Linked DNA regions of Homo sapiens: all the other regions are linked to region 3. The links are contacts of gene promoters, found by promoter capture Hi-C in blood cells and fetal thymus (Javierre and others, 2016). All regions are on one chromosome and are shown on one strand. The core of a region is centred on a gene start or on the middle of the fragment in contact, and the rest is flanking DNA. Distances in the headings are between cores, read along the strand shown. Region 1 overlaps GABBR2 (gamma-aminobutyric acid type B receptor subunit 2). Region 2 overlaps GABBR2 (gamma-aminobutyric acid type B receptor subunit 2). Region 3 holds the start of GABBR2 (gamma-aminobutyric acid type B receptor subunit 2). Region 4 overlaps GABBR2 (gamma-aminobutyric acid type B receptor subunit 2).

Region 1 (5,028 bases), core at 876-3,375, 230 kb before region 3:
TATACATATATTTTTCCTTATTATAAAGCTTTTTCTTGATATAAAATTTGGTCTGTAAGAACCCTGGGGGTTGAGTGAATAATTTAACTTCTGAACTCAGAAAAGACTTATGTGCATTGCTGTGCTGAATTTTGGCTGCTGTTCAGAATTGAGAAATGGATGTTACCACCTTTACCAGGGCTATCATCACCTGATCTTTGATAAGACTTACAATGATAGAGAATGGTGTGCTTTGGAAATACTTTTACATGTCCTATATTACTTGGTCCTCGCAATAGCCCTATGAGATAAGCAGGGCAGGAATTAGTAACACTCCTCATGGAAGCATGCAGAGGCCCTGAGGCTGACACACCCTGTCCAAGGTCCTGCTCACAGTCGTGACAGCATCAAGGTGCCAGACACCATGCTAGTGGCTTGCACCACCTGCCATCAATCCTCCTGATAACCCCCAGAAGGGGGTTATCACAGATATAGAAGCAGAGATATAGAAGATATATCTATAGAAGGGACATCCTAAGATCACAACAGTATGCTGAATAGTGGCCCCTAAAAATATATATCCACACAGATATAGAAGCAGAGGCTTGGAGAACTCAGGTTCAAGGTCACACAGGTGGTAGTGGTAAAATTGGGGTTTGACGCAGTCTGGCAGCTCTACAGCATGTGTTTCCCAAAGTCTACTTAAGGCGTCTTTCCTCTCCTCCAGGAGAGCATCAACACAACTGAGAATGACATCTTAGGTAAAAGGAGCACGGGATGAACTTTTACAGAGTCTAAAGGGCCCTGAAGTTGATGCCAGGACTCTATTATTCATATATGTATACATAACATGTGTACTGTGTTATGTGCTTCACAATATCCTTACCTCATTTGGGTCTCACAGTTGCCTAGAGAGGTAAGCAGTGGAGGGTTGTACATACCACATTTTACAGGTACAAGAGGCTCAGAGAGGTCAAGTGATTTGCTCAAAGTGACACAGGACAATAAATGTGCTCTTTTGGCCAATGTCATCAGACAAGATGATCAAAGGAGGTGGGCCAGAAGGTTGAAATGGGGACCAAGGCACTGACCTTTCCTGAGATGGTCTTGATCTGCTTGGAGCTCAGGGGCTCGAAATCCACGCCAATGTAGCCCTCCATGGCAGCAAGCAGATTCTTCCGGAGGCAGCGGGATGAGTTGGCTTCCGTGTGCACCTGCTCCCACCAAGAAGGCTCGTACCAGCCCGGAATGATCCACTGATATTTACTACCATACATGTTCTCCTCGTATGCCTGTAAAAGATGGAGTGACTATGAGGGCATTGAGAGTCGCACAGTTCAAGGCTCTGTGCCCTGGAAGACAGGTGGGGAGGAAGGCTTCCTCTTCCCAGAGGATTTAGGAAATGTTTAATTACTTGTTTGGTTTCTTCCTTGCTATTTATCAAAGGATCCAAGGTAGTTTATGGATAACATGTATAATAAAATAATAAGTACTGAATAAAAATTAAAACATAAGGGCCCATAAAAATATAAATTATGTTTCCTGAAGATAGAAGGAACAGAATGTAGACAGACCAAAGGTTCTAACCATATTCATCATTAGCTGCAAATTTCACCATGAACTTCCCAGCAGCCCAAGAGAAAAGGGCAACAAGGTTATTTACACAACTCTCATTATCAATAAGGAGAAAACATACCAGATCTTTGGGGAAACAAAGTATTTTCTAGTCTCTAACCCTAAAAATGTCCCATATGGAGAGGATACTGTCAAATTAGCCAGTTTAGTATCAACACAACTTCTACAACAAAGAGATTTCATAAAGCTAATTTTTGTATAGATCTTTACTAAAAGCTGAGGCCTCATAACACAACCCAGGGGGAATAATTTTTAAGGGGCCAAGGCAATTTAATCTAAGTGTGTAGTTTATATAAGATGCCACTTGGCAAACCGAGAAGTCGCTCTGAATCTTTATCCAAAACACAGAGTGTATAAATTCAGATCCTAAAAAAATTCCCTTACATTTTTATATCTTACATGGATCTTATTTGATTGTCACTCACATTCACTCTGGGAGGTGGTTTATCATCCTCATTCTAGAGAGGAGGAAACTGAAAATCAGAGGGAAAGTAACTTTTCCAAGGTCAAACAGTCAGGGAGAAAAGTCAGGCCTGGATCTAGTTCTGCTGACTTTAAGGGTACAAAGCTACACTGCTTGCCTTCCATTTAAAGAAAAGTCATCAGAAGGTTCTAATGCACCCCTACTTGACTCTAATTCTTATTGTCATTATTTTATATCAGGAAAATCATGGTTTTTGATAGCTTTGATTCAAGCAGAAAAGTCCCAGTTTGTAGGACTGTCAGGTTCCATCAAAATTGGGTTCAGAATAAAGTTTCTAAGTGGTGGTCATGTACCCGTAAGTAAACAAAATACCCAGAAGTGACTACAGAGAGCAGGGGTGGATGGAAATTTCCTCTGTGCATTGATGGACTGCCCGCATTCTAAACTGAAACCTTAAACAATCCTTCCGTTCAATCCTGGGGAGTCACCCACATTAGGAGATGTTGGGGAACCATTCATGTCGCACCCCTTGGCCTACAGCAGGGTTAATGTGAGAGGACAGGAGGGTGTAGGGAGAGAAGCCTGAGATTGCTCTGGACCCTGGGAAGGTTCTTGCTGCCTTCCACTTAGGCTCCAGGAGGCTAAAGTGAGGGTCTGTCCACAGAAGGGAGGCCAGAGCTCCCAACAACTCCTATATGTTAGAGAAAAGTTACCATCAATTCTAACAGTCAGAGGGGCACTCTCCTCATCCCAAGTCCAGAGGCTACTCCTCTAAAACACCCTTAATACCTGAGAAAGCCCAGGCTGCAGTGTGGAGCAGCTCATTGGGGTACATGTGAGTTAAAAGATTTGTTCCTTGACTTAAGCTCAGATCCCCTCTCTGTGGTCTCCATCCATTGGTTCGGCAAGGTATCTGAAGATTAAATAGACATTGCTTAACAAAAGACCCCTTCAACTACCTCAAGGCAGTGATCACACTGTCTCTTCACTAGACTCCTTCGATGATACAGGACCTTCGCTTCCCTCATTTTAGACACTGTACTTCTCATAATGCAACCTCAGATCACAGTCATTTTTGCAGCAACTACATTACAATGTTGCCCCAAACAAAACTGTCATGGAAAATACAGAAAACTCTCGTATTTTAATTACCTAACAAAATCCCAGCTGAAGAAAAGCAGGCAGTCTCCGGGGCTTCTCTCTAATGAATGAAATTTAGTCCACAGAAACTTTAAAAAAAAAAAAGAAAAGAAAAGAAAAGAAAAGAAATGCCAGATCCTGGCTGGGGACTAGACTTTTGAATAAAAGGGTCACCCTAGTAATCCCAGGTCATTTAATCAATGGCAGAGCCTGTAAGACTTCACAACTCTCATCTTTTACTGACAGAGATCTCATGTGTATTGAGGTCCCATTATGTGTGTTGCTATTTTTATATATTATTTTATTCTCACAACTACCCTATGAGGTATGCACTATTATCTAAATTTTATAGATGAAATTTTCTCAACACATATAGCTGGTAAGTCAAAGGGACAAGACTCAAAGTCCATTCTTGAAGTTCCGCTCTTAGTAAAACAAAACAAAAGGATTTTTGGAAGTTTTCTCAATCTTATAAGGTTGTGGCAAGGAGACAGCTCCACTTATGAGGAAGTAAGAATCAGTAGATACAGAGTGGCTGGGCGCGTTGGCTCATGCCTATAGCACTTTGGGAGGCCGAGGTGGGCGGATCACTTGAGGTCAGGAGTTCAAGACCAGCCTGGCCAACATGGTGAAACCTTGTCTGTACTAAAAAATACAAAAATTAGCTGGGCATGGTGGCACATGCCTGTAATCCCAGCTACTCAGGAGGCTGAGGCAGGAGAATTGCTTGAACCTGGGAGGCAGAAGTTGCAGTGAGCTGAGATCACACCCCCGTACTCCAGCCTGAGTGACAGAGTGAGACTCTGTCTCAAAAAACAAACAAACAAACAAAAAAACTCAGAGTGAGGATATGAAAAGGCCTTCTGATCAGACACAAAGGCAGATTTTCTTCACACATGTGATAATTAAGACCATGTGGTAATTAATTAAGAGGCAGCACTGAGCAGGAAGTTCAGAGCAGAAAATCAGATCAGCTCTGACAGTTCTTCAACCAGCTACTGTCCTGTTGTAGCTGTTTCTTGTAAGTGAGTTTTCCAGAAAACAGAAGCTTATTCCATTTGAATGATAATACATTTTATTTAGAACATTAGTCAATTTTGATGAAGACAAAACTTTTTCTAACCTAGCTTCTGACTTTTTGGGGAAAAAAATAATACAGTCAAACAGCAGATTTTCTGCCACATGCCTGCCAGGTAACTCATGCACACAACTCCTGGAGCCCCACTTTTCCCATGGACAGACAGAGGAAAGCAAAGCCTGCCTCACTGTACTGGTTTAAGAATTAAATGAGATAATTTGTGTATCATGCATGGCAAACACTATGTTCAGAAACATTTTAGCTGCCCCTTCTCATTCTCTTCTCCTCTTGGTAACCCATAGTTTCATTCTGAACATAAGTCACTGTTCTGGGCTATGTTCTTGGGCTTAGAGAAGACTGCCCCAAACACCAGATGGCCCCAGACAGTTGTACTTAGACTTTGGATCCACTTTTCATGGCTTTTTGTCTCCTTTCTAGCTGTCAGTTCTACACTGTCATTTTTCACTATCATCAAGTTCCTCTGCCTCACTCTGAATTTGCTGCTTTTAAACTGCTATAGACTTGGAAAGTAGGGCGCCTAGATTGCTAAGCATATTTGTAGAGCAAAAGCAAGCAGGCTTTGAGTGAGGCTCTCCTGCAAGGGAGGTAGACTGGGCTTGGATAGATCATCCATTGTCTAATGCAACTGTGGAAATGCCTCCAGGACTCCATTGCAGTATTCCTATGGTCAGAAGGGCTGAGGTTGTTGGACACATGAGTTTTAACTAGGCACTGGTATGCTTCTCTGTCTCCTCTGCCAGTTGGGGAGTTT
Region 2 (5,575 bases), core at 2,357-4,856, 160 kb before region 3:
GGGTTGACAACTTACTGAGGATGGCCCTGTGTTGCACTGACACACGGCAGAATTTGGCTGGGCATGAAATTCTTGGGCTACCATTTCTCCCCTTTGAAACTACAAAGTGATGCAGAGGAGAAATTTGGGGCTGGCTTGATTGTCACTGATTGTCGTTCATTTGTAGGTACCCAGTTTCCTCTACCTGGAAGCCTGAAAGATTTTTTTTCCCCTTATTCCTGGAATTCAAAAAAATCGCACTCTTGATTTTATTTGGGATAAAGAGAGCCCTATACACGACCTGTATACAATCCATACACTCAAGTATTTCCAACTCAGTAAAAAAAAACCTAATATATATATATAAAATGACTATGCTATATTTATATTGTGTATATTGTTTTATATTTATATTTTTATAATATATTTAACATATTTATTACATATACATTTATAATATTGTATATATTATACATAATAAATATAGCATATGTAGTATGTTTATCATATATATATTTATATTATATTCCTATATATTCTTGTCTCTCCTCTGGGCCACAGGATTATCTGTATGTTGTCTCCTCATTCTCTAAATCCATATCTGTCCTATTTTCTTTTCATAATTGCATCTCTTAGTCCTTGTCCTCCTCAATCTAGAAGAGCATCTTATTTTACTGTATTTTATTACAAGGTATGTGCATATTAGCTTTCACTATTTTCTGGTAAAATGGCTGTACCCACAGCCCTAGCTGTAGGACATAAGTATTCTCATTTCTTCACATCCTGGCCAGTATTTGATATTATCTGACTTCCTAATTTTTGTTAGTCTTTCAGAGATAAAGTGGTACTTCATTATTGTTTGATTTTGCAGTGCTTTGCCTGGAATGTGGCTGAGTGGTGATACATAGACATGTTAGCTATTCGGGTTCTTTGTTCTGTGAGTTGCCTGACTTGCTTTTCAACAGCCTCAGTTTTAAGCCTTATTGACTTTAACATATTTGTATTGTGTTATTGACATTTTTAGTTTCCTATGAATTTTTCATGATCATCTCCCTTTTCGCCCCATCCTCCAATTGCAGGCTATTTCATGGAGCCTGCTTTGCTGCATATGATTGGGGAGGCTACACATCTTTCTAAAGTTTTCTTCTTTATCCTACAATAGATCATTTTCAGAGATGGACTCTTCCTCCACTTCTTCTGAGTACTCTGCTTTTTTTCATTATTTTTGAAGTACTTTTTCAAAGGTGTTTTAAATTTATTAATCCTCAAAAGCAAAGCAAGTGTTTTCAGGCTGGGCTTATCAAGAGACACATGTGGACGGCACTTGGCCCTGTTTTCTATTTACGTTTTAATTGCATATACTTCTCAGAAGGCCGGAGAATAAGTATTTAAGCACAGTTTTTGGTGTCTAGTAGGCTTTCACCTTAGGCTGGTCTACATTAAATAAGTGACATCATCTTTTACCCTCAGTGCCCAATTTTCTAATACTCTAGATCAACACAGTACATTAAATTCCCTTCCTGCACTGCTGCTAGGGTTTTTCTTTCCTGCCTAAAAAATTTCATGTGGGAAGTCTCTGCTTCCCAGAATGCAATTCACATCTAGTGTGCTCCCCTCCTCTTCTCATCCAGGTTTTTTTTCCCCCTAGGAATGTATAGCTCTGTCTGAGTTTAGTGAAAGAGAGATGAGAATAAAGAGAAAAAAGCAATTTGGTTGTCTCAGAGATCAGCAACTGTTAGGTAGAGGCAATAGCTATCCAATTTTCTAGTTGATATGAGTCCTGAGTCTAACTCAGATTGTAGGGGAGAAAGGAAAAGGTCTACCTGTTAATTTTCAACACAATTGTTATTTTATGAGGCAAGGTTTGGAATGCTAGGAAGCAAAGCTTAGGATTTTCTCAATCTAGAGCCATCTACTTTGTAATTAATGAAGCTTCTAAACATCTAGAATATCAATGAGTATTGGGGTCTCTTGGTTCCTTGAGAGTGTATGTATGTGTATGTTTTTTTGTTTGTTTATTTGTTTGGTTGGTTGGTTTTCTTTGAGATGGAGTCCTGCTCTATCGCCCAGGCTGGAGTGCAGTGGTGCAATCTCAGGTCACTGCAACCTCCGCCTCCCGATTGTTCAAGCGATTCTCCTGCCTCAGCCTCCCAAGCAGTGATTACAGGCACCCACCACCATGCCCAGCTAATTTCTTTTTGTTTTGGGATTTTTAGTAAAGATGGGGGTTTCACCATGTTGGACAGGCTGGTCTTGCGCTCCTGACCTCAGGTGATCCACCTGCTTTGGCCTCCCAAAGTGCTGGGATTACAGGCGTGAGCCACTGTGCCTGGCTTCTTTTCCATGTTTTGATAGTTTCAAAGGAAAGCTAAAAAAATGTTTTATTGGGTACCAAATGTTTTATTGAGTAGCCAAATACCCTTTTTTTTCATTTTTGGTTTATGCCATTTATTTATTTAGTAAACCATATGTTCTCAAATATTGCAAAAATAAAGTTCAAGTCAGTTTAGTAAAAGTATTAGAAAAATCACGAATAAATTTAGTCTGACTTAACCAAATATGTGGCAGGGCCTGGCACCCTCTTTCACGTTGTTCAGATGCCATTTAAACCACAAGGTGGTGTGAAGGTTTTTAAGGTTCATGATTGGTACCATCAAACTGCTCTCTAATGTGGTGGTGCTGCCATGCCCCTGGGGGCTGGTGGATAAGACTGCCCAGCTCATCCCATACTGGCCAGCTCTGGGCACTGAATGGGGTTTTTGCCCACCGCCCTGCTTGCCCCAGTCTGTAGCCAGGCTAAACCTGGATCACCAGCATTCTCTTTGTTTTGAGCAGTTGCCCAGGGAGTCTTGAGCACATCCTGGCCCACAGAAGATCCTTAAATAGCATCTCATTCTTTCACTCCCACCCCAGGAAGTGACCTGAGTGCTTCTGATAATGATGGCATCCAGGTACTACCCAATCTACGACCAGACCACAGGGCCTGATGGCTCCCCTGAACTATCCATGGCCACCTGGCCAGAGGAGTGGCAAAATCCTCCAGAATCTTGGTGTCAAGGACCAAGTTCACAAAGAATTAAGCACTATGAGTGGTTGCCTTGAAGCCAGCATATGGGCAAGGTGAAGCAGCTTTGACCTTCATCCTGGAGCGTCAAGATAGTCCTGTCCAAATCCTATAACCTAGTTCTCAGTATACAAATTTAGTATAACTGCCCCCCACCCATCACCTTTTATCTATGCCAAGTCTTCCCAGTTATCCCACCTGATCCTCACAACAACCCTGTGGCAGGTGCCGTTAGTAATCGTATGGATAAGAAAACCGAGGCTTAGAGGTTAAAAAACTTGCCCAACAAAGCAAATTGGGGCGAAAGCACAAAAGCTTTCATGCCCAAGAAAGCATGAAAATGTTTCAGCTCTAAATAGTGGTGATGGTTGAACAACGTTGTGAATGTACTCAATGACAATGACTCATCCACTTTAAAATGGTTAAAATGGCGAATTTTATCTTGTGCATTTTACCACAATATAAAAAGAAAAAAGGAACTTGTCCAAGATCATGCAACTTAGAAATGGAGGAGTGGAACCAGTACTGTTAAGTCATACTGCCTCCATCCTCACCACCACAGCCCCTCAGAAATGATACAAGCCCCTCAGTCTGAATCCCAGAGACATCCTGGCAAAGACGGGCAGCAGCTGAGTGTGATTCAGACCCCTGGACTCCAAAGACCTTGGATTTGGACCTCAACGCTGTCTTTTCCCAGCTGTGCAAACTTAGGCCACTAGTCCTTCTTGCATCTGTAGAACTAAGATTGTAAGCTCTGCCCTGCCTGCTTTGGAGGGGTGATGGCAGGATGTAAAAGAACTTTGTGGACTCTGAAGCTTTACAGATGCATAAAGTCCCCTGCATTCCCTGTGATTATGATTGCCAGAGAGTTCATAGATACTGGATTTGTGGAGAGTCTGTTCACACGGGGGATCCTTTGCAATCTTCCTGGGGGACAGGATTTTTGTTTTTATTTCCTCATCCTACACTCACTCAAAAAAAAAATCCATTCTCTAACATGCCTGAGAGTAAAGCCTGCTTGACAGTGGATAGATGAATGAATGGAGAAATGACCCAACCACCCAATCGGCCAGCCACAGTCTAAGCCATCCAAAGGAGAGTTTTTATGAACACACGTCTGACTTGGTGATTAATACTTTCAGACAGGGCTAGGTGCAGTGGCTCATGCCTGTAATCCCAGCACTTTGGGAGGCCGAGGTGCGTAGATCACTTGAGGTCGGCAATTTGTGACCAGCCTGGCCGACATGGTGAAACCCTGTCTCTACTAAAAATACAAAAATTAGCCGGGCGTGGTGGTGGGCACCTGTAATCCCAGCTACCCAGGAGGCTGAGGCAGAACAATCGCTTAAACCCAGGAAGAAGAGGTTGCAGTGAGCTGAGATCATGCCACCGCACTCCAGCCTCGGCGAGTGAAACAGAGCAAGACTTTGTCTCAACCAAACCAAACCAAACAAAACAAAAACTTTCAGACAGATTACCCAAGGTAGAAATTATGATCCATTTTATACCTGAAAAAACTGTGGCCCAGAAAGGTCATCCAGTAGACCAGGGAGGGAACAATTTATGCCATGGCTTCCAGGGCCTCTCAAACACAGCAAGTTTTGGAGGAGACATATTTAACCAGCAGCATGGGGTGGGAAGAGAGCCATGAGCATCTCTCTCCAGCTGGAGGCCTCTAGCCTGCCGTGATATGTTTCATGAGCGTTCAGGGCCTGCATACTGAACCATGAGTCACTTTAACAAGCAGCACCTGAATGCAGAGAGAAGTGGTGAGCTCATGCAGCTACGAGGCCTCTTTAGGGAGCCGGGACATTTAGGCTTAACCCTGTCCCTGTGACTGAGAGAACAAGGGTAAGTCATTTCCCCCCTTTTAGATGTCTGTTTTTCTCATCTCTGAAAGTGATGGATTGGACCAAAGATTTCAAAGGTTCTCTGCAACCACAAAAATCTATGCTTCGCGAACATTGAAGAAAATGATTAAGGAGTTTCTTGGTCTTGTGTGGGTGTGTGTTTTATTTAATCTGATTTATTCAGATAACTGCCATTGTGCCTCACTTCCATTTGCAGATACGAACCCAGACGAAAAATGTAAACTCATCTCCCAGCTTCAGGATCTTTATGACATTCCAAGGCATTGACGAATTCTTGCCTAAATGCAATTCATTCTTCACCTGTTTTGGGGCATCCGAGTTTAGCTTCTCTGCAAAAATAAACCATTTTTTTCAGGAGGCAGGTATAACCGGGCAGGGGGGACCACAGTTGCTAAGTCCTAGGTAAGGAACTCAGGCCAAATGCAAAGGGATGAGAAAATGATTGAGGCTTGCTCTTTTCTCTGTTGGTTTAATCTTTTTCCACGACTTTGCTGACTGTTTCTGTAATTAAATGAGGGAGGTATTTGTCATCTAGGGTTCCTTTCAGCTGAGATGAATGGAACGCAACTTTCTCAGGAAGCTTCTGACAAAACACTGTTTGTGGCCAGTGCCAGGATGTATACAAAGGCCCCAGGCTGTGTGTGTTGGGAACTCGGGTCCA
Region 3 (5,493 bases), core at 1,741-4,240:
ACATGCCTGTAATCCCAGCTACACGGGAGGCTGAGGCAGGAGAATCACTTGACCCTGGGAGGTGGAGGTTGCGGTGAGCCAAGATCACGCCAATGCACTCCAGCCTGGGCAACAAGAGCAAAACTCTATCTCAAAAAAACAAAAACAAAACAAAACAAAAAAAACAAAAAAAAAAAAAAAAAGAAGGAGGAGGAGGAGGGGAGGCAGCAGGACACATTTATTTAGTGCTTACAGCATGCCAGAGCACTGGCCGCTGAGCCTGCCAGCTCAGGGCATCTTCTACCCTGGCCTGTTATCTTCCTTAAGCTGTGTGTCACCTGCAGAGTACACATAATATTCCCACCTAGGCTTAGAGAGATTAAATACCCAGCTCAAGGTCATCCAGGGTGGAAAGTAACCAGTTTCTCACTAAAACCCAGGCCCCACCTACCCCAAAGCCCTGGCTCTGGGCCCCTTCAAAAGGCTAGAGACACTTCTCTGTTTGCACGAAGCTAAAATTATCTTCTGTCTTCCTTCCCACTGTTTTCTAAATATTCCCACGAATTGAAGAGTCTTCTGACTGTCTCATCCTCTTGACTTTGGGTCCTTTCACTCAGAAAGTCATCAAGACACACTCGAAAAATAAAATGTAAAGGCTTCAACCCACACCCTGAAACGAAGCACCCATCTCTTTGCTGCCACAAACAGGCCAGTATGAAATCTCTTTCAGGGAAGCTTTCTAAAGGGAAGAAACTGATGATGAAAACATTATGCAGCTGACAATACTTGGTGATGATGCAAGCAGGGCTGCCCTATCTAAAAATGTGTTTGTCCCCAAAAGACCGGCTTTGCAGTGACCCCTCCAGAAGAATATGTGCAGTAGCAACAGAGAAACTGTCAAGAAGATATGCCTCCGTGTAACTGCATTGCTGTCTCCATTTATGTGTGCCAGACAAGTACCCCCACAGAACTTGAGATGCTCAGGCAAAGACGAGGGCGATAGGAATGTCATTCGGAAATGATTTCACACCGGGTTAGCCCTGCACAGCCAGCCAGCTTGCATCCTCTGGGGCAGAGGACGCCTCTCCGCCTGCAGCAGCCTGCGCGTACCGCTGCCAACTGCCACCGGTTCCTTCACCTTTTATTTACAGCGCAGAGCAAGCTGGTTCACCGGTGAAGCGGGGGAGGCAGGGAATAAGATACAATCTAGATTCTGCTCTTTCTCTGGGGACATAAAGAGGGTCCGACCAAGGAGGAGGGGAAGCCCAGATTGCACCACCAGAGCAGTAGCGCGACCCTCCTCCCAAAAGGGTTCTGCACCTGGACTCCAGCAGAAGCGCCCGGAGAGTCCCAGGAAGCCAGGATCAAGCCCAGCGCCTCGGCCCCGTTCCGCGCGATGGAAGAGGCGCCAACCGAGCGTACTGCACAGGAAATCACTGCCCCCTTCAGGCCGCGTCTCAGACGCTGCGGTCGGAGCACAGGGGCTCGCTCGGTCCGGAAAAACTCGCAAACCCGACCTTGCGCGGCCAGCGATCGCTCCTCCAGACCCGCTCCGCGCGCTCCAGCCCCGGCCTGGCGGTGAAGGTCCGCTCTGGGGCTTCAGGCAGAACCCAAACCGAGGGCGTGGGGAGGGGTCTTGGGATGGAAAGCCCTTGGCTCTCTGGCTCCGCTCCGGACTGCTCTCCAAGTCTGTGCTCCGGCTGCTAGGTCGGATGCTTCAAGCCTGAGCCGTGAGAAACTGCCTGCAGCCGCCCGGCCAACAGCAGCGGCGCGGCCGGACACCACTGCACGTCCGGGACGAGAACTGCCAGGGCACTTTCTGAGCAACTAACCCGAGGCAGGGGTCTCCTGAAATCGCTCTGGCCACAGGCAGCGCCGGGCACGTCCAGGCAGAAGCGCTGCAGAGCCGGTGGCCCCACACTTGCCCGCGCGGAGCGGGCTCAGAGCTGCTGGCGCGCACCAGGCGCCCAGCCACGCTGCACGCTCAAGCCCCTTGGGTTCCGGAGCCTTCCGGACCTCAAAGCGCGGCTCGGCTTCCCTGGGGGCCTGTGAGCAGGCCCGCGGCCCCTCCGGCCCTGGGTGGCCCAGTTTGCAGTCAATGCGCCTGTTCCTCCCACTCGGTACCTCGCAGCCCCATGAGCGGGACCTGGACAGGGACAATCAATGTAGGCCTTTGGGGGTCCAGCCCCCACCTTCTCCACTCCTTTTTCTCTGGTCAAAAGAGACCCCAGTCTTCTATCCCACCCCCACCCCTCCCCACACACACATACACACATAAGACCAGAGGAGGGGGTGCTTGGCAAATGTTACCAGCTGTGCCAGCCAAGCCCAGCAGGACCGCGGGGGTGAACACTGGGCACCAGCCCTCTCTGCCCTCGGCAGGCGCGGGCCGGTCAATCGGGGATCTGACCAAAGGCCGGAGGTTGCCTGTGTCCAAACCACCCACCCCAATGCCCCCCGAAGCCCCGACGGCAGGGGCAGCCGGACACTCACCTCCGTGTCATAGAGCCGCAGGTCGAGGAAGTAGGGGCGCAGGAGTGACTCGTTGCGGATCTGCTCGATGGCCAGTTCCACGGCGGGGAGCACACCGCGCCCGATGCTGCCCTTGGCCACCTCCTTGGTGAGCGGCATGAGGCCCATGATGGAGAGCGGCGGGCTGCTGGGCGGCGGCCGGGGGGCGCCCCGCGCCCAGCCCCAGGCCCCGGGCGCCAGAGGCAGCAGCAGCGGCAGCAGCAGTAGCAGTAGCAGGCGCGCGGGCGGCGGTGGCGGCGGCGGCGGCGGCCCGGGCTGCCCGGAGCTCCGCGGGGAAGCCATGCCGCGCCGCGGGCTGCGGGCGCCGGCTCACTCGGCCCGCATGGCCTGGCCCGGCCCGCCGCCCCGCGCCAAGGTCTTCCCGCGGCGCCCGCGCAATGGCGCCGGCCCGGGCCCCGGCTCCGTCTCGGGCTAGGGTTCCGGCTCGGCTCAGAACGGCCGCGGCGGCGGCGGCGGCAGCGGCGGCGCCCGTGACGGATCAATCACGCCGGGAAGGGGTGGGAGCGAGCGGAGTGCGGGAGGCGGGGAGCAAGCGAGCAAACGCGGAGAGGGGGGCCGGCGTCTCCGCGCGCGCCTCTCTCCAGCGCGGCCGCCCCGCACCGGGCCGCCTCCGCCCGCCCCCGTGCGCGCTCTGAACCGCTCTCCCGCCGGGAGCTGCTAGGCGGCAGCCCCTGGAGCTCGGCCGGGGGAGGGCGGACGGCAGGAAACGCGGGAGGCGAAGGCGAGGCTGCTCAGGGGCGGCTCGGGCCGCCTCCAGGGACGGGGACGAGCCGTGCGCGCCGGGGGAGGGGGAGGCGCTGGCGCTGCGGCGGCCGCGGGGAGGGCCACCTTCCCAGCACACGCACACACGCGCCCCCGGCCCTCCGCTGCGCCAGCTGCCGCTGCCCGCCGACCGCTGACCTCCAGGCACCAGAGCGCCCGGGGACAGCGATCTGGGAACCGGGACCGCGCGCTGGCACACGCAGTGGCCGCCGCCGCTCCGCCGAGCGCTGCCTGTAGCACCTGCACGGTGGTTTGGAACCGCTTCTCGGAGGTCTGGCCGGGAAGGTCTGGGCAGGAGAATGTTCCACGAAGGCGTCCCAGAGGCATCTGCAGCCTACGCTCTCCCGTTCTTTTCTGGCGCCCACGAGCCCCTGACCGAGTCCCGGGGGTCGCTGAAGACGCCCACGGGTGCTCGAACGCCCGTTGGTGCCAGGCTGCCCGGCCTTTAGGGCCTTGGCTGAGGACACCCCTTTCCTCCCCACCAGACGGAGCGACCGCCCTTTGCCAACCCCAAGCAAAGCTGGGGTCCCAACCTTACGTGCGCTACCGCCCCCTCCAGGCATTTGACCTCCCCGCGTCCCCATTCTTGATGGGCCCCGCCCTAGAAGTCTCCCGGGGTGGGAGCACTATCCTCAGGCCAGGGCGGGGCCGCGCGCCCCTGGACTTGGCCCTCTCTCTGCCAGGTCGCACTGGCCAATCTTAGCCAAAGCAGTCCCGAGCCAGATGTACCCGAGTGAGCTGACCTAAGACCTTGGGTTCCTTGTGCCTCTGCATACTTCAAGAATAGGAAACGTGATCATTAATCTATAAAGTCCCAGGGGCTGATTAATGCGAGGAACACAGTAGGACATCAAATCACAAAACATACTTGAGCCTGAACCAGGGACTGTGGAAGATATCGACGACCTTGTAACAAGAATGGAAGTTTGACCTTCGCTGAGTACTTACTGTGTGCCTTATGATGTAATCCCCACAACTGCCCTGTAAGCATACTGTGTTACTCACCCTTACTTTACAGGCGAATACACTGGTGCTCAGAGAGGTTCTGTAGCTAGTGGAAGCACACAGAGCTACTGAAGGACCGGAACCCAGAGCCAGCAGGAACTCCGTGCACAGTGCAGTGGGAGCCAGGGATGTGGGACTGCAAGTTTCCTCTCCAGGAGGAGCACTGCCCTGACTCAGTTGCTCTGGACATCGATTCCCTCCGGCATATGGTGAGGGATTTGGACCGGATGATGATGATGATGGCCACACACCAGCTCTACTGGAGTGAGGCAAGGGCAGCTCTGAATCCAGGCTGAGTTGTTAGGAAGCACAAAGATGTGAGTGGAGGCTGAGCAGAACTACTAGAGAGTACCTTGGACAGCGCCAGGGAAACCAGGCCAAATTCTCTCTGCCCTAACTTCTCTTTCCAGGCTTCTATAGACTCCACCTCTCCCGGCTCCACTTGGCATTTCCTTTTCCCCAAGCTGGAGGGTTTGCATGAACAGAACTCACCTGAGCATCTCCTCCAGGAAGGGAGGAAGGAAGGGAGGGAGGGAAAGAAATGGTCCAAAGGACAGTGTAATCCCCAGATACTCGCTCAACTGCTGTCTCACTTGACATCACAAATATCCTCCAGTCATAGTCTTCTGGCACCTGCCATTCCTCAAACCCTTAGCTCAGGTTTCTGAATGAACATTTTCACTTGGTTTTTTTCTTTTTTCTAATTCTTTCCTTTAGTCATTTGTGTCCTCCTTGCAAGCTGTGCCAATATAGAGTGTCCACTGACACCTACATCTGGGAATAAGTTGAAAGCTGGGTAACTTTGCCTGACATTTACTAAGGGGTTGAAGGCCCTACCTGGCATCCTGCCCTACAGCCCCTCTGTCTTCTTTTATGGTGGGGTGACCTGGCCCCAAGACGCATGACCTGGGATCTGCCCTGACCCAGGGGGCACCAATCTCACTCTCCATCAGCATGGCTCCAGGCCAATCTCTGATCTCACAGCCCACTCCTAATGCCTGGGCATCCCTCTGGTTCCAAGATCTTACTCTGGCCTGGTATTACAGTTTGGGTAACTGCATCCCTGATGTGCTTCCTGAGTCTGAGTTCCTGCCTCAGTCACCAGCCTAGAATGCATGTTCCTCCAGAGCTGGGGTCCAGCGTCTTGCTTTATAATAATCATTCATTCCTTTGACCAGTGTTTTGAAGGGCATGCTACCTGCTAGGCACTGTCCT
Region 4 (5,255 bases), core at 2,578-5,077, 200 kb before region 3:
TGCTGTGGTGAAGAGAGTGACAGGGACTTGTCACTCCAATAAAGCCATCACAATGGCTTCGTTCCTGCAACTGACTGAGCACACAACCTCCGTCCACACACTAGACATGGGAGTGCAGTCTTTATCCATGCCTGCAAGACATAGGGGGAGAAGGGGAGGGGTTGGAGGAGGAAAAGGAGATCAGAGAAAAAGGTGGAAAGCAAATGGAATTGGGAAGGGAGTGCAGGTAAACGGATGACTCGGAAGAATCTTCTCACTCAGCATTTAATTGAGTCCATGTGACCTGTTTAAGCCTAATGTGGGTCTGCACTGTCCCATCAGGGAGGCTGGTCCCCACTTCTGAGAAGGCCACAGTGCCACTCCACTGCAAGGCCTCCTCCCTGCTCTGAAGCCTGCACCTCTCCATTAAACACAGAACAGCTGCCAGAGGACGCCGGGTACTGCCCTCTCTCTAGAATCACCCAGCCTTGGGTTTATCAAATCACTGCATGACCCACCGCTTCAGTGTGTGGGCCAGCCTGTTCTCTCCACCCACACTGTCTCTGCTTTAGGGCCCCAAGACTGTATCTGCATGCCCTGCCAGGCTCCTAACCCCTGCAACTCCCTGCTACCCACAGGTAGGGCCAGTGAACCCCTGGCTCCTATGAATCCCCCCGCTTGGCACTGGACACTCCTGCCCTCCATGGATGCAAGGTGAGGGGCCTGAGGTCAGGAGCCCTGGGGTGCAGCCCCCAGTCAGCCTGGAAAGGGACCTTCTCTGACCTCAGGCTCTCAATCTGAGCTCTTGCTTCATTCCTGGGACTGAAATTCTCTCATGCCCAGTCACTGCCTGGCTTCTGAACTTGAGTACCTTTCCGAGCAGCCACTCACCACTTTGGATTTTCCAGAATGGGCTCTGTTTGTCCCTACCAGTCCCACTACTTCATTCACTCACTTATTCACCCACTCATTCATTTCTGATATTGACATCTCTTCTGTTTCAGGAACCGTCTGAGGTAGGACTGGGCCTCTAAAGACCAAAAATGTTCACTGTCCTGGATCTCTGTCTAGTGAGGGCAAGAGGCATTCATCAGCTGACTGTCCCAGGGAATGTGTAAATGTTCACTGAGACAAGGACGCTCAAGTTCAGGGGCAGGCTCCTGGGAGAGGCTGTAGCAGAGAAGTCAGCCCCAGGCCAGGAGGTGGGGCAGGGAAAAGGATTCCAGGCCGAGGAGCAGCATGTGTACTTCCTGTGACGGGAGGGAGCTGGTGGAGAAACTAAAAGAATGTCCTAGCGGGCTTAATGCAGAGCCTAAAGCAGGGCTTGAGGGAGGCTGTCGGAATGAACTGAGAAAGAGGTGGGTGAGGGCAGCCCACACAGGCCTTCCAGTTCACGTGAAGGATCAGGTCTCGGCCCTAAGCACAGTGGTAACCCATGATGAAGTTTTAAGTGATGGAGTGACATTATTAGAACTATGATTTGAGACAGTTGCTCAGGCTTCTGTGGGACCTCTGAGGGGCAGGGACATGAGGGGAAGAGGAAGGGCAGGGAGGGGCTCCAGCAATGGTCCGGGAGAGGGATTCTGGAGGCTAGATGATATGATATGGGAGGTGGCAAGAAGTGATCGGCTTGGGGGTACATTCAGGACAACTAATAATCTGTATTAGTCATCTACTGCTGTGCAACAAATTATCCCAAAACGTAGCAGCTTAACCAATACACATCCACTGTCCCCCACAGTTTCCATGGTGAGGAATGGGGAGCAACTTAACTGGGGGTTTCTGGCTCAGGGTCTTTCAGGAGGTTGTGGTTAGGATGCTGGCTGGGGCTGCCGTCACCTAAAGACTTTGGGACTACATGTTGGAATCACCTGGGGAGTTTTAGAAACTGCTGATGCCCTAACTGCCTCCTAAACCAATCAGAACCTCTGGGATAGGACCCAGGCATCTGTATTTTTAGAGCTTTCCAGGAGTTTCCAATGTGTAGCTAAAGTGGCTACTGATTGGGGTAAGAGCAACAGAATCATCAAGCTTACAGCTGGGTTGCCAGCCTGTCTGAAAACCCCCGAGCCCCCTGTCCCCATCTCCTCCAGACCCAGGGCACCAGGATTGCTCCCCTGCTCTCTCCTGCCCCCTCTAGTAGGTACATCTCATCTTTAATCCTCAGGCCCTTCTACTCCTGGCCCTTAGCACCCCGAGCAGAACCTGACTATGGCAGAGGAGAAAATGGAGAGAAGGAAAGGAGGCAGGAAGACATGAGACAGAAAGCAAGAAAGGGAGAAGAGAGAAGCAGAATATTGTTATAGCAACTTGCTACTGCATTCAGACCACGTGTCCCACACAGAGAAGGCTCCCATGGGCAAGTGAAATTCACAGCCAGTGGCTGGAGGCTGCAGAGAGCTCCAGAGATCTCAAGGCACTCAGCTTCTATGGCCAGTAGTTCCCCAGACAACTTCCCTAATGAGGCTACTGCACCAGCAGAGGAACCATCCAGAAAGGCACAGATCCAGGTAAAGATGGGGAGAACCAGGGCTGCACCACATGCACTTTACAACTCTTTGAAAATTCTAATTAGGTTACGAAATGAACTTGAGAGCAAAGCGAATTCTCAGCTCTCCTATGGAAGCTGAGGTAACCTACTTTGTCATTCAAATGCACTTGCTATATATAGCCATGAATTGTGCCGAAATGTCACTCCTCTTACCTGACTAAAGTGTATAATTATAGATTTACTTCTATTCATTCATGAAATGTGTCTTCACTTGATTAAACAGTTCATTCAAGGAAAATCCATTAAAATATGGAACATGTTAAAATGTGGCTCCTTAGAGGCAGAGGGCACCGCTGTAGCTAAGATGCTAATTAGGATAAACAGGCATTTGAAACACTCAAATCTTTGAATAATTCAGGCCACTTTTACTGGGGCTGGAGCTCCCCAGGAACTGCCATTAATTTAAGCTAATTAAAAAATTAGCCTGGAGAGGTGTAGACCAAAGCCGACTTCAAACACAGGAGAGCTGTCATGTAGAGGGGGGGCACCAGGTTCTGCGCACCCCCGTGGTGCTGGAGCACCAACAGGTAAGATGGTTCAGGAAATTAGATTTTGGCCCAATGCCAAAAAACCCCATAGCTTTCTAATGACGGAGAAGGTGGCTTTGATAGATAGTGAGGTCTTTCAAAGAATTGGGGCATATGCTTAAAAACTTATCCATGTGGTGTATTTCTGCCTGTCCAACCTGATGTGCATTCATTAAGAGAGCATTCCTTCTGAGAAATGGAGCCACCTACTTTTTAGATTTCTACAAATAAGTTCGCTCTTAATCATCTGTAACCAGATTTGAAAGTAAGTGAAAAAAATGTAAAGGGCAAGTGTGTAACTGAATATGTATTAGATCTGCTGCACAAGGGGAATAGCTGTACTTGGGGAATGCCTGTGGGTATATATCCAGCTGTATCCAGGTGTGTGTGTGTGTGTGTGTGTGTGTGTGTGTGTGCATGTGCGTGTGTGACCCATGCATGTTCACAGTGCAGAGCCAGTGGCTTGAAATGTGACCTCCAAAAAAGATAGGTCTAAGTTCTAACCCTGACAACTTGTGAATGTGACCTCATTTGGAAAAAGGGTCTTTGCAGACGTAATTAACTGAAGGATCTTGGGATGAGATCATCCTGGATAAATCCAATGTTAAGGATTCTTATAAGAGAAAGGCAAAGGGAGACTTGGGGCACAGAGACATGAAGGGGAAGTCCACGTGAAGACAGAGGCAGAGGGTGGAGTGATGCATCTGCCGGCAAGGAGCACCTGGAGCCACCAGAAGCTGGGAGATGCAGGCAAGGATTCTCTCCTAGAGACTCCAGGGCAAGCCTGCTGACACCTTCATTTAGGACCTCTGGCCTCCAGAACTATGAGACAATACATTTCTGTTGTTTTAAGCCACCTAGTTTGTGGCGATTTGTTTCGGCAGCCACAGGAAACTAATACACCTGGGGCAGGTTCCCATGGAGAAGCCTGGGCTTCCTATCCAATCTAGATGCTCACATCACATGTCAAGGCCTCTGGAATGGAACCCCAGTTTCCCTCTATTTGATGGCACCATTTGTCTGTCCCAAAGATATATGGTATTTCTTACATCTCCAGAATTACCAAAAGCAGGGAAACAAGTGGAGGACCATACGCTGTGCATCGTGGAAATGTGGGTGCCTGGGACAGGGGCGCTGGCCTCATGGAGCTTCAGTGGAGGGCTCAGGAGTCTGCATCACTGACTTTGAGTTGACTTGCAAAGAGATGACCATGAGTATGGGGGCTGTAACATTTTCTTCCCCATGGACGTGTCAGCTCCAGGAGGGAAGCACTTGGTTTGTTTTGATCTCAGGATCCTGTGTAGTGCCTGGCATATAGTAGGTGCTCAGAATTGTGGTGAATGAGAGCATGGATGAGTGCATGCTGAGGCTGCACCATGGCCACCCACTCTTAGATGGAGGAGGTTAATATTCCAAGCCCACTAGACCCATCTTGAGCTGGTCTCGCAGGGATGAGGCAACTTCGCAAGGGCTGGGCTGCATGCTGAGGCTGAAGACCCAGTCTGCAGACACAGGGGTGAGTCCCAGGGGCAGCGCTAGCTGGAACTCTATCAGGGCCCCAATGAAGGAAGAAATCTGGGGAGAGCTGTGGTGCTCTGGGGGCACCCCTGTGGGGACATATGGGGCCTGAGGGCAGCTGGAGTTCCCTGGGGACAGTTCCCTGCCTCTCTCACAATGGCAGAGAGTGTCAGGCACCTGTGACCTGAGACCTGCCCAGCTACACACATCAAGACCTCATGGCAGCTCCTACCTGCTGGGAGTCCAGCTGGCCTACATGGCAATTGGGAGCAGAGATCCCACCTGGTAGAGCTACAGGCCCTCACACCCAACCCACAATGCCAGCTGTCAGCACTATCACTGCACTATGAAAGTCCTCCAGAGGGAGGGCAGGGAGGCTGTAGGCTGCTCCTCTCCCCAGCCCACCACTGCTCCTCGGAGGCCTGTCTCCCAGAACCACATACTGTAGGGGAGAAACGCACCCTCGGCCCAATTTCAAGAAGGCAACTGGGGCTGCTCTGGCTTTCAAATCAAATCAAATCCCTCTTTCGATCAGCCAGGCTGATGGAAAACTGATTTCTCAGTTTTAGAAATTCCAAAGAATCATCAGTGATGGATAGAGTCATGCCCTTCCCCCAACAATGTCCATGTCCAAATCCCTAAAATATGTTACCTTATGTGGCAAAGGGGACTTTGCAGAC

Evidence for each region. The method cuts DNA at HindIII sites, captures the fragments that hold promoters and counts their contacts. A CHiCAGO score of 5 or more calls a contact.
Region 1: a contact is called between a fragment that was not itself captured here and the fragment with the promoter of GABBR2 in region 3, in 2 of 17 cell types (endothelial precursors and M2 macrophages). The highest score is 6.5, in endothelial precursors.
Region 2: a contact is called between a fragment that was not itself captured here and the fragment with the promoter of GABBR2 in region 3, in 2 of 17 cell types (M2 macrophages and M0 macrophages). The highest score is 6.4, in M2 macrophages.
Region 4: a fragment that was not itself captured here is called in contact with the fragment with the promoter of GABBR2 in region 3 in 3 of 17 cell types (M2 macrophages, M0 macrophages and endothelial precursors); the score reaches 5.4 in M2 macrophages.

What each region holds. Positions count from the first base shown.
Region 1 is chr9:98,472,076-98,477,103 of GRCh38, forward strand. It overlaps GABBR2 (gamma-aminobutyric acid type B receptor subunit 2), which reads right to left. Exons shown (of 19, transcript NM_005458.8): 6 at 1,071-1,271. Among named protein-coding and RNA genes, the nearest start is that of TBC1D2, 220 kb to the left of the region's middle. The HindIII fragment of the contact is 4,198 bases long and covers 27-4,224 here.
Region 2 is chr9:98,546,932-98,552,506 of GRCh38, forward strand. All of the region lies in intron 2 of GABBR2 (gamma-aminobutyric acid type B receptor subunit 2), which reads right to left. Among named protein-coding and RNA genes, the nearest start is that of GABBR2, 160 kb to the right of the region's middle. The HindIII fragment of the contact is 500 bases long and covers 3,357-3,856 here.
Region 3 is chr9:98,705,945-98,711,437 of GRCh38, forward strand. It overlaps GABBR2 (gamma-aminobutyric acid type B receptor subunit 2), which reads right to left and starts at 2,991. Exons shown (of 19, transcript NM_005458.8): 1 at 2,473-2,991. The coding sequence starts at 2,793. RefSeq lists enhancers at 617-1,188, 1,760-2,330, 4,083-4,377. The HindIII fragment of the contact is 8,458 bases long and covers 713-5,493 here.
Region 4 is chr9:98,501,986-98,507,240 of GRCh38, forward strand. The region is part of intron 3 of GABBR2 (gamma-aminobutyric acid type B receptor subunit 2); the gene reads right to left. Among named protein-coding and RNA genes, the nearest start is that of GABBR2, 200 kb to the right of the region's middle. The HindIII fragment of the contact is 3,639 bases long and covers 2,009-5,255 here.